2 separate regions of the Homo sapiens genome follow, and region 2 is linked to region 1. Evidence: promoter capture Hi-C in 16 types of primary human blood cells and fetal thymus (Javierre and others, 2016). All regions are on one chromosome and are shown on one strand. Each heading gives the region's core, a stretch centred on a gene start or on the middle of the fragment in contact. The rest is flanking DNA. Distances are from core to core; before and after follow the strand shown. Region 1 holds the start of DOCK11 (dedicator of cytokinesis 11). Region 2 overlaps DOCK11 (dedicator of cytokinesis 11).

Evidence for each region. The method cuts DNA at HindIII sites, captures the fragments that hold promoters and counts their contacts. A CHiCAGO score of 5 or more calls a contact.
Region 2: a fragment that was not itself captured here is called in contact with the fragment with the promoter of DOCK11 in region 1 in 1 of 17 cell types (activated CD4 T cells); the score reaches 7.6 in activated CD4 T cells.

What each region holds. Positions count from the first base shown.
Region 1 is chrX:118,493,062-118,499,266 of GRCh38, forward strand. DOCK11 (dedicator of cytokinesis 11) reads left to right here and starts at 2,754. Exons shown (of 53, transcript NM_144658.4): 1 at 2,754-3,012. The coding sequence starts at 2,911. RefSeq lists enhancers at 2,092-2,161, 2,564-3,542 and silencers at 2,572-2,711, 2,822-2,901, 2,992-3,051, 3,222-3,281. The HindIII fragment of the contact is 5,195 bases long and covers 420-5,614 here.
Region 2 is chrX:118,623,906-118,629,948 of GRCh38, forward strand. It overlaps DOCK11 (dedicator of cytokinesis 11), which reads left to right. Exons shown (of 53, transcript NM_144658.4): 32 at 634-750; 33 at 3,599-3,674; 34 at 4,258-4,367. Among named protein-coding and RNA genes, the nearest start is that of IL13RA1, 100 kb to the right of the region's middle. The HindIII fragment of the contact is 1,159 bases long and covers 1,607-2,765 here.

The DNA.
Region 1 (6,205 bases), core at 1,504-4,003:
CAGAAGGAAATAGTGTCTTTAATTCATACTGCATTCTCCCTCAGTGTGTAGCACCATGCTCAATGTTTATGTATTTAAATAGAAGTCTTAAACCAGAAGAAGTGAAATCTACAATCTCAAGAATGAGCATAGAGCCTGCACAATGGCCAGATGGTGTTTGTGCACCATCAGTGTGACATATGCTTCCCATGGCTCACAATACTCTGCAGAAATTGCTTACTTCTCCTACTCTATCTTGTACCACTCTTCTTCCTTCTACGCTCCAGCCACACTGGCCTTTTTTTGGTCTTTGAACACACTAAGTCTGCCCCCATCTCTAGGCCTTCGTTCCTGGCATTTCTGTCGCCTGGAATGGTCTACCTGCTGATCTCTGCTGACTGCTTCTTTAAGACTCAGCTCAGTGTTTACCTCCTCAAAGAAGCTTTTCTTGATCATCTATTTTAAACTAGGTCCCCAACTCCAGTTACTCTCTATCAACTCCCCTTAATTCTCTACATAGCATTTATGTTTCTGAAATTAACATGTTCATTTCTTTGCACTGACATGTGAGCTCCAGGAGAGGAGGGACCTTGCCTGTCTTGTTCAATGCTGTGCACCTTCAGTGGCTACCATAGAGCCTGTGGTACTAAGAATGCTTTTGGCTGAAAGTAACAGAATATTCATCTAAACGTGTCATAAACTGCAGGGGTTTATTTTTCTTACATAAAAAGGAACTAGAGGTAGGCAGTATCAGGCCTGGTTCAACAGTTCAATGCTGTCTGGATTCTACATTGGCTTCTCTGAGATTGCCTTGGCCTTGCCTCATGGTTGCAATATGGCTGCCAAGGGCCAAAGCATTGCAAGAAAACATCCCTCTCAGGAAGAAAGTGGGGCCTGGGCCTCTCTCCTTTTTTTTTCATCAAGGTAGAAAAACTTTCCCAGGAACCCTCCTCTCACACTTCCCTCTTATATCTTATTGGCCCAAACCGATTGGGAGTCTAGACCATCCCACTAGTCAATAAGAGGGAGCTTATCATGGTTTTTTCATCAGTCATGATTCATCACCTGGAGTTGGGCCTGCCTTCCTTAAACCCTGTGGCTCTGCCCTATATCTGAAGTAAATCTGGGCTCTCTTTGCAAGCAAAAAGTGTTATAGCTATTGTGGTGGTAACCAACAGCATGAGCCACACAGGCATTTATGGAACAGAGGGTATGAATTCTTGGAGATCAGCCTACACGCAACAATTAACAAATTTTACACGTACTGTGCAAAACTAAGATTTGTGACAGAATGTCTTTAGAGGACTTCCAGGTCCCAGGCCCTCTAGGAGCCTCCATATATGCTTTATTGAGACTGATGGGATGGCTGAAATAGGCTTACTGCGAAGAGACTTGGCCTTTTCTGGGTTCAAAGAAACCATCACCACGCATGCCCTTGTTTCCATAATAAAGTCCCCTAAAAGACTGTTTGGTCTTTGAGGGTGGGGAAAGTGCCCGATGGGTGGTGGTAGGACTGCTTTCAGAAGGGCTGCTCGGTCCCCCAGACTGAGGGCCATTTTCAAACTCTCAACAAATGAAATAACCAGATAGAAAACTGCCACCATCAGTGGAGCCTTTCACTCTGCACTTCAGGAGGTCTGACAGGGTCACTAGTACTTCAAGATTCCCGTCCCTATTTCTGTCTTAAGCATGTTCGTTTTATACCCTGTTATGAGATGTTCTTTGATTCTTGGAAAAACAATTTCTTGGAAGCTGAAAAGAGTAAGGAGATGAATAGGAAATGGAGAGGTGAGTGCAGGGCACTTGTAAAAGCTACTATAAGATTGGTAAGTCCACCAAACCCAGGGAGATGGCCTTCCTAATGCCCACCCCCACCCCACTCCTGGTGCAGTCAGTGCTGACCTAGGGATCACCTGCCACAGGCTCATCCTAATGCCCACCCCCACCCCACTCCTGGTGCAGTCAGTGCTGACCTAGGGATCACCTGCCACAGGCTCAGGCTCCACCACCCAGCTCTCCCCCGTGGGGGACGGAGCGAGGGGTGCCGCCACAATAAGTTCCCACTTCCAGAAGCATGCTCTCTCCCCAGTGTTGCCCCCTGTTAGGTGAGCCAACTGAGTAGGAAAACGGTGTGGGCGAGGAGGGGGACCCAGTCGAGCCGCTCACGCTGGAAAGCAGCTCTCTGTCCTTCGACATTGGTGCGACCCTTCCCCAAGGAGCACACAAAAGGCGGCTGCTCCACGTTGTTTTCCAGCCCCTAGCCGCCTGGGCCCTGGGGGCTTGCGGGGTGGAGGGACGTGAGAGTTCTCCAGCCCTCCTGCGGGCACTGCAGCTCGGAGGCGGGAGAGGAGCACTAGGGCGGGAGAGGAGCACGCCCCACTCTTGGAGACATTTCATCACCCCTCTCTGTTCCCCCACCCCACCCCGCCCTCCCCACTCAAGCGGAAAAAAAGAAGCAGCCCAGATCTCCCCTCCCGGATGCGGCTGCACCAGCAACATCAGCTGCGGGCGGAGCCCGAGCGGTAGCCACTTCCCCCCTCTTCCCTCGTGACCCTCGCCCCCACCTCCAGTTCTCCCTCCCCCTCTACACACCCTTCCCCATCAGACACACCCTCCTGCTTCGGCTGGTGGCGATCGGAGCTCGGGCCCTCTAGGGGAGGGAGCTGCCGCCGCCGACGCCGTGGGGCAGGACAGTGAGCGGGCGAAGCGAGCGAGAAAAGGAGGGAAGGAGGGAACGAGGGAGGAGCAGCGGGTGGGAGGTGGGAGGGAGGAGCAGCGTGAGCCGCGCCGCCGCCGAGCTGCGATGTGGCCGGCCGGCCGGCGAGTAAACAGAGGGAGCAGCAGCGGCCGCGGCCGCCGCGGGCCGGGGCAGTGAGTCCACCCGCCCGCCGAGGTCCGCCCGCCCGCCGAGACCCGCCCGCCGCCGCTGCCATGGCCGAAGTGCGCAAATTCACCAAACGGCTCAGCAAGCCTGGCACGGCGGCTGAGCTCCGGCAGAGCGTGTCTGAGGCCGTGCGGGGCTCCGTGGTGCTGGTGAGTGGCCGGGGGACGGGGCATCCCGGGGGACGCGCTCCAGGCGGGAGCGACGCGGGAAGGGGCAGGAACGGCGCCAGTGCGGCCGCTTGGTGCGCCGCGCGCTGTCTTTCTCCGCTCCAGTAAGTTTTCGCACCGGCAGCCGCCGGCCGGGGTCCGAGTCCCAGGCGCCGGCTGACAGCTCTCCGGCCGCCCGGCACGGCGGAGGCGTGCGCCGGGATGGAAGCAGACGGGCAAAAGCCGGGCTCGGACGGCTGCGGAGGAGGCGGAGGCGGAGGCTCCCACCCAGGGTCGGGGCCGGGGGTGTGAGCTAAAGAGCTGACCTCGCGCTGCTCTGGACTCGGCACAAAGAGCCGGGGACAAGGGCACGACGAGATCCTGATCCCCTCCCGCGAGCACCTGAGGCCGCCTAGGCGGAAGGATGCGATGAGCGTTTGGCACACACACTCTCGCGCGCACACATACACACACTGTGTACACAAAAAAGAACCCCACCCAGAAAGCCCCGGGCGCCCAAGCTCGGGCTGGCGGTGAGAACAGAGGAAGCAGAGCGACTTCCTCCTGCAACTGGGGAGAGAGGGTGGTGATGGGTGTTGAAGGGGTGCTGCTGCGGAGGAAGGGCATTAGAAACAACGGGGTTCTGCGACAGAGTGGGCGCAGGGTCATCCACCGCAGGGAGAGTGTGTCCCTCGGGGACACGCGAGCGCTCCAGAGGCAAGGGGACCAAGGGGACGGTGCCGTGGGGATTTGGGGGAAGACTGGGTGTGTCAGTCCAGGGATGGAGGACCTGGGGTCAGAGCCCCACAGCTCAGGACTGGGGGATGGGGATTCGAAAGCGCGCTGACTCCCTGGGAACCCTCCCAGAGCACCCTCAGCCTTATCCAGATTGTCTGACTCTGGAGAAAGGCTAAAGGGTGCTAACGGGCACTTGCCCCTTCTCTTGTTTTCAAGACACTCGTTGCCAGTTTCCTGGACAAGCGAACAAACCCTGAATAAGCAATCGGACTGATTAATTAGTGTTTGTTTTGTTACTTTGTTTTTTGGTTGTTGTTTTTGTTTGTTTTTGTCTCCCTCAGCTCCATTTTACAGCGAGTCGTTTGCTGTGTTTAAATTTCACCGTTTAAGAGAGGGCTCTTTTTGTTAAAACAACTTGTCATCGGAAGGGAACTTCACAGCTTTTCCTTGTAATTTTTCTGTTGATCTTGTAGAATCAGCAATAAAACCCAGCATTAAAGGGAGGCCAGGGGCTTGATCCCAACAGTGGAGAAAGTTGACATTAGTGGGAGTTCTGGAGGAGGATCAAAGGTAAACTATGTACCTTTGAGATAAAGATCTGATCCCTAATAGCTACAACTGTGCAAACCTAAGTGACTTTAAAGAAATCTCTTTATTGTGGCTAGACCCTTGAAAGTTTAATTCTGCTGTTTAGTGGAGCTAAATCCAGACCTTTAATGTTACTTTAATGGACTTGGCTTGTGTATTTCAGTCTGATTTTGGAGTGAGGACCTGTTGAGGTCAGATTGGAGCCTTGCCTGTCATCACAGCCAGTTAAGAGAGGAAGGCAAGCTGTGTGCAGAGCATTTATACCAGGGCTCTCATCTTGGGTGATTGTTAACACGTGATTCAATCTACCTAGCAGAGAACGCTTTCCTAAATTCAGAGAAAACAAAAAACCTTCCTTGAGCGGGGTTGGCTGGCCTTCTACCACAACACGTGAAGAAAGCTGTAGGTGGCCAGATTTCTCGAGAATAAATGGGACTAAGAAAACTTCCACTGGGATTTGATCAGCACTTGACCTGCCACCCTAGCAGCAAAAAGTTAACATTAGCATTCTTTCCCCTGTTTTTAGGTTTTCAAAAGAATTTTGTGCATTGTAGGTTCAGCGGCTCCTTCCTGACCATTGATTCTATGGCGAAGGAGGAAAAACTGTTATTGGCAGGAGTCTTTTCTAGGAGACGCTGGCAGTGGCCATGGTTCCCTTGTCAGCCCAGCTTACTTGGGACCAAGGTCATTGATTTTTACCGTTTACACCAGGCAATGCAGAGGAATATTTACTCATTACTCTAGTATGTGAACCACATTGAGATTTTGGGAGTGAGGGAGAACAGATTCTAGTAATCTAAATCAATGAATATCTATTGAGCCCTTACAATGTGCCACACACAATGCTAGATGCTCTATAATTATGAGAATGCAAATGATCTTTTTCTTCATTTGTTTTCATTATTTACAATCTGGGTTGGTTGTGTGTATGGGAATGTCTTTGTCAATAGGACACCCAGATTATGCACACAAATCAAGTTTAGATTCTTCATAGAGCCTTAGCAAATGCTATTTGTAAGCAGTTTAGTCAACGAAAAAATAAGGAAATAGTTCTTACATGGAATGTATGCTCCTAAATGACTCTCTCTCACAAAGAGCTGTTAACCAAAGTTAGTAAAACCACGAGTGGCTGGAGAGTGAGGGGACCATGTTGCAGCTGCTGCCATAACTTCTGATTCTTTTAAGGGACAGCTGAGGTAGGATTTACACTTGTGCTATAAACCCAAGATACTCACATTGGGGCTTCAATATGAGTTAGAGCCATTACCGCAGCAAGTCAAGCTTTCCTCTGGTGTATCTCTTGTTAGAACATGGAAAACCCACCAAGCTGTACAAATATACAGTATTTCCTGTTTAGGTTTTTTTTTTATTTTTTTTTTAAGGATTTTGGAATTACACCCTTGTTGGCCTGTTGCTAACATCATTCAGTTTTCCTCACTGTTTGAAAAATTCAGATGGCTGGGCCTGGGCTATATATAGCATGTTGTTGCGTATTCAAACTGTTATTCAGTTATTAGTACTTCCACGAATCTATTAACTAACTACATAATAAAGCAGACAGAGAGACTGTTCCACTGTTACTGCATTTTCCTATAAGTTCAGCATTTTTATGAAGGTCAGTTTTAACCCAGGGAAAGGGATAATTACAGAATCATCATTGACAGATTTCTCAAGAGGGGATTGGGGAGAAACATTATAACCTGAGAGTGTATGTGATTAAGAGAGAAGTGTTTACATATGTACTTGTTTAAAATGCAGAGTTTTAAATTTTTAAATTGATTTTGTTGTAATTCAGGATGTAGCTACTGGTGCCGCAGGGGAACAAAGGCATTTTGCTAAACCTGTTGTATTATGGCCGCCCTTTAGAGAA
Region 2 (6,043 bases), core at 936-3,435, 130 kb after region 1:
GAAATAAATTTGTATAAGAGGTACCACATTAATTAAGAGCCCTGGTGGCCAGTTTTATTTACATATTTACAAATATATCAATCTCCCAAGTCTTAAAATTGACTTAGGGGACCAAGTTCATATTATTGTAATTGTAGCTTTAATGGAAGCAAAAAATGTTTCCTGAATGAATACAGTAACTTACCATTTTTTCACTTCTTCCACTTACTCATTCATTCCTTCAGCTAATATGTATTGACCATCTGCTATGTGCCCAGGCATTGGGGATGAAGCAGTGAACAAGACAGACACTGTCCCTGCTCTCATGAAGCTCAACGCTCACTGGAGCTGAAAAACAGGAATAATATCATCTGCTTTATAGGCCAACTTCTATTTTTTACAAAAACCTTTTACTTCATGTCATTATGTTTGAGGGATGTAATTTGAGTCTGTATCATGGATAAATCCAAAGGCCAACAAAGTTCTGTGGTAATTAGTTTTCAGACTATAAGTATAAAGAGATTCATGCTTCAGTAATTTGTTATGGATGTTAGCCTACTTTTTAGTCTTTAAATTGATATATGAAGCCAACTCCATTTATTTGTAATATATACATATTATATACGTATTAAGCTTTCAATAATTATTTTTCAGAACCAACAAGCCAAAATAGCACAATTGTACCTCCCCTTTGTTGGACTACTTTTGGAAAATATACAGCGATTAGCAGGTCGAGATACCTTGTATTCTTGTGCAGCCATGCCTAATTCTGTAAGTAGTAATGTGTTTCTGTTGGAGTTTTATCCTATTTTATTGAATGCATTTGGAATTGGGGTCATATGCTATATGATCTCAACCTTAAGAGTTCACTTTTTTTTTTTTTTTTTTTTTTGAGCCAGAGTCTCGCTCTATCACCCAGGCTGGAGTGTAGTGGCACAATCATAGTTCACTGTAGTCTCAAACTCCTGTGCTCAAGTGATCCTCCTGCTTTGGCCTCCCGAGTGGCTGGGACTACAGGCATACGCCACCATGCCCAGCTAATGTTTTTCATTTTTAGCAGAGACAGGGTCTCACTGTGCAGCCCAGGCTGATCTCAAACTCCTGAGCTCAAGGAATCCTCCCCTCTCAGCCCCGTGAAGTGCTGGGATTACAGGCATGAGCCACCGTGCCCAGCCAAGAGTTCAGTTTTTACTCCATGTACACTGTTTTTCCTAATACAGTGCTTTGCAAACTTTAATCTGCATATGAATCACCTGGGGAATTTGTTAAAACAGGTTTTTTTTTTTTTGAGACAGAGTCTCGCTCTGTCGCCCAGGCTGGAGTGCAGTGGCGTGATCTCGGCTCACTGCAACCTCCGCCTCCTGGGTTCAAGGGATTCTCCTGCCTCAGCCTCCTGAATAGCTGGGACTACAGGTGCCCGCCACCATGCCTGGCTAATTTTTTTGTATATTTAGTAGAGACGGTGTTTCACCATGTTAGCCAGGCTGGTCTGGAACATCTGACCTCAGGTGATCTACCCACCACGGCCCCCAAAGTGCTAGGATTACAGGCGTGAGGCACCACACCTAGCCAACAGATTTTAATTCAATAGACCTGGGGTGGGACTTGAGAGCATGCATTTCTAACAAGCTTTTGGCTGCTTCTGGTCCAAAGATTGCACTTTGGAAAACAAATTCCAAGAGAACACCACAAATCCTTTGAACGCTGTGTTTTCGTTCTTAACATTTTCTGTTGTTGTATGGCTTCATACATTTATTCAACTTAAACTGAACAAAAGATTCTCTACTTCCAAGATATTAGGCACTGGGGACTAAACTGTATTCCTTTGCTTCTCCTTTCCCTTAGTAGTCTCCTTCAGCACTTCTTGGTGAGACTCTTTTAGTTTATCACAATTGGTCTGTGCTTTTTTTGCTCCCCTTAGAATTTTAAGAATTAGAAGGAACTTTGGAGGTGATCAGTCTCCTATTTGGCAAAACAACCTTTTGCCATTGTAATAATTTAAACATTCCTTCTCACATTAGACCTAAAAGGTTTTCTATCCACTGGTCTTACTTTTGTCTTCTAGAGACACATGAAACACATCTGTTCCCACCTCCAAATGTACCCTTTCCACTTGTGCCTTCTAAATTTTTCTCCAAGCCACCAAATATCTCCACTAATCTGTCATTCCAAATCCTTTACTTTTTTTTTTTTTTTTTTGAGACAGAGTCTAAGTCTGTCACCCAGGCTAAAGTGCAGTGGCATGATCTCAGCTCACTGCAATCTCTGCCTCCTGGGTTCAAGTGATTCTCCTGCCTCAGCCTCCTGAGTAGCTGGGACTACAGGCATGCGCCACCACGCCCGGCTAATTTTTTTTGTACTTTTAGTAGAGACGGGGGGTTTCACCATGTTGGCCAAGCTGGTCTTGAAATCCTGACCTCAAGTGATCTGCCTGCCTCAGCCTCCCAAAGTGCTGGAATTATAGGCATGAGCCACTGTGCCCGGTCCCCAAAACCCTTTGCTTTCGTGGTCACCCCTTTTCCAAATATGCTTCAGTTTACCAGTAACCCTATTAAAATACAATGTCCAAATTATACACTTTATAGTCTGCCCAGTGGACTGTTAACTTCTGCCCCCATCCATGTTCTGTATGGCCCAAGATCACCTTTGCACTTTGGCTGGCCACGTAATATTGTTGGGTAGCAGGTTAAACTGTGTCATTTACAGCTTCCTCTGCAAATTCCCCCTATGAAATGCTACAGCCAATTTGTCATGCCTGTCCTGTGTTCCTGAGGACGTTGCTTTTAAGCTTTTCTAGTGGCTTGCTTCCCTGTGACTCCCAGTCATGTCAACTGGCTGAATGTGGATACTACACCTACCTGAGTGTCAGGCTGGTCTCACTTTACAAATACAGTATCTCATGCTTATGCTCCCTCCACATAGATTTGACAGCATTATTTGGAAATATTTCACTTCTCTGTATTCTTTGCAGCTCAAGTTTCCCTAGGGCTTCTGGTCACACACCTTCTTCTAGCATTGCCCTGGTTCTAAGGAGGAGAACTGAATCATGTTAAGACTTTACCAGGCTGGGCGCCGTGGCACATGCCTGTAATCCCAGCACTTGGGGAGGCCAAGGCAGGAGGATCACTTGAGTCCAGGAGTTTGAGACCAACCTAGGCAACATGGGAAAACCCCATCTCTAAAAAAATGAAAAATTAGCTGGGTGTGGTGGTGTATACCTGTAGTCCTGGCTAATCTGGAGGCTGAAGTGAGAGGGTCACTTGAGCCCAGGAGGTTGAGGCTACAGTGAGCTATGATCATGCCACCGCACTCTAGCCTGGACTACACAGCAAGACCCTGTCTCAGAAAACGAAAACAAAAAAGACTGTACCAGTTGCAGCTGTACCAGTTGCAGCTATCTAGAATTATGTCACTTGGCTAGAGGTCATGGTTACAACAGTATGCTAGTAGCTTTTTTTTTTTAAAAAAGAGTCACCTAAATACTAATTACTAGTATCTGATTTAGACTTTCACAGTGAGCTTTGTTTAAAATCAATGTAACATTTTATTCTGTTAATTCAGATTTCTTATCCTATATACGAATTTGTTTAAATGACACAGGTATCATATTCTGTTACAGGCATCCAGAGATGAGTTTCCATGTGGCTTTACTTCACCTGCCAATAGAGGGAGTCTGAGCACTGACAAAGACACCGGTAATTAAACCTTTTGGAGATGATACATTGCGTGGGTGTTTAGACATGTACCCTCTACTTCTCAGTATTTTTGATATATTTCATAATAAAGACCATACATAGCTTGATCTCTACTAAAGTTTAATTAAAATCTGACTTATACTTGCAGTCAAATTTATTTGCCTAGGTTTCCTTGTCTAAGCTTATTTAGAACATAGCTTGGCATACTGAGAAAATAGAGGATAATGAGAAAAATACTGGTTTCCACTCTTCTTATCTGTCACCAGTTTTAAGCCAGATACTCCCATCTATGGGCTCAAGTTTCCTTGTCTATAAAATTGTCTTTTAAATTGTGTGGCTTTATTTTACGGCTTCCAAGGAATTTCTTGTCATTTTGTACATGCTAAAGTGTTTTGAAAGGTGAAAAGTTGCTTCACTTTTACATGGTTTCTTATGGTGTTTTGATATAATAAACTTCACATTTTAGATGTCCAAGATCTATTCCCTACATTAATGTCTCTACTTAAATTAGTTCCGTACTTTTTAAATATTTCTGACAGTTCCCCCTCTTGCCAACAAGGGCTTGACTTTTTTTTTTCCCCAGCTTATGGGTCTTTTCAAAATGGACATGGAATTAAGAGAGAAGATTCAAGAGGTTCCCTCATCCCAGAAGGAGCAACAGGATTTCCAGATCAGGGCAACACTGGTGAAAATGTAAGAACTTAAATATATAGGATGACCCTAGTGACACATTAGCCTGCAACAATTTTTTTATAGTATAAATATGAGCATCTGTACTCACCTGTAGTCCATCCTGGCTCTGCGAAAAGCATCCCATAATTCTTAGATATTTTAGCAGTATCTTCCTATAGTGGCAGCTGCTACTTCAATGTCTTAAACTATTTATAGAGAATAAGGCATTCATCCTCAAGAGTTCTAACTCTGAATATCTCCTTTAACCCTAGCACGCTATTTTAGTGAGGAGAAATTCAAGTTTAAAATATCTAATGTGCCTTGTTATTTAAAACGAAGCACATCCTGGCAGGATTAATGCAGTCTTTCATTCTTTTGTAATAGAGTAATGATATTAATTTGGGAGGAAAAAATATAGGTCCCAAAATTGACAATCTTAGGGTCCCAGCATCACTTAATCAGAATATATCCTCCCAACTCTTCTATCAAGTCGTTTCACGCCTACCATTAAAGTTTGAGATGTGACTGCCTTAAGGCAGAAAGACCTCATTTTAGACGAGTAAAGTTTTGCCATGTTGTTATGTAAAATCATTGAATCGTATAAAATTATATTAGAAGGGACTATAAGAACAATAAATTCCAACTCTCAATTTACAAATGAAAATTGGGATTATGACTTAGAACAACCAGCTATGGCAGGACCATACTCGAACCCAGATTTTCTAATATGAGCACTTTGTCTCCTATATCATGGTGCTCTTAGTGTACATCAGCATCACCTGGAGGGCTTAAAAAATAGATGTCTGGGCCTCACCCCAGGGTGAGATTCAGTAAGTCTGGAATAGGGCCTGCTAACATGTATTTCTAAGTTCCCAGGTGATGTTGATGCTGCTGGTTGGGTATTGTTACCCTTGAGAACCAGTGGACTATACTTCCACTGGTTCCTTGAGCCTTTGGGTAAACAGTAATTTATTCACAAATGTTTCTCTTTTACACCATTTAGAAATTGTGACAACAGGTACTGTCATAGCTAAGGCAAATAAAGGTCAGAGAGGTTGAATGACTTGCTAGTAGTCACATAGTAGCTAGGCAAGCAATCAGAACCTAGGTCTGTTTGCTCCAAGTAAAAGTTCTTCCTTAGTAAATTCCACCCTAGTCAATGGTGCATCCCCAGTTTAGCTCAACTGAAAGTATTAGTTTTTAAATTTTTTAGATTATTGTTATTCTATTCATATAAATCCCCAAATAAGTCAGATCTTGTCATGCTTAATTTCTGATATTTTTTAAAAAGTCATTAAATAATAGGAACACATCAGTACTTTGTAGAGGTACTAATTTTGAAGTATTATTGGGTACTCCTAAGTGTAATTATCGTAATATAATTAGCCCATTTTTTAATTTATTTATAGTTTTTAGAAATAGGGTCTTGCTCTGTCACCCAGGCTGGAGTGCAGTGACACGATCAGTGCTCACTGCAGCCTTGAACTCCTGGGCTCAAGCAGTCTTCCTGCCTCAGCCTCCTGAGTAGCTAGGACTACAGGCATGCACCATCACACCCAGCTAAATTTTTTTTTTTTTTTTTTTTGTAGAGACAGGTTTTGCTATATTGCCCAGGCTGGTATTAAACTCCTGGCCTCAAGTGATCCTCCCACCTGAGCGTCCCAAAACGCTGGGTCTACAGGTGTGGGCTACTGCGC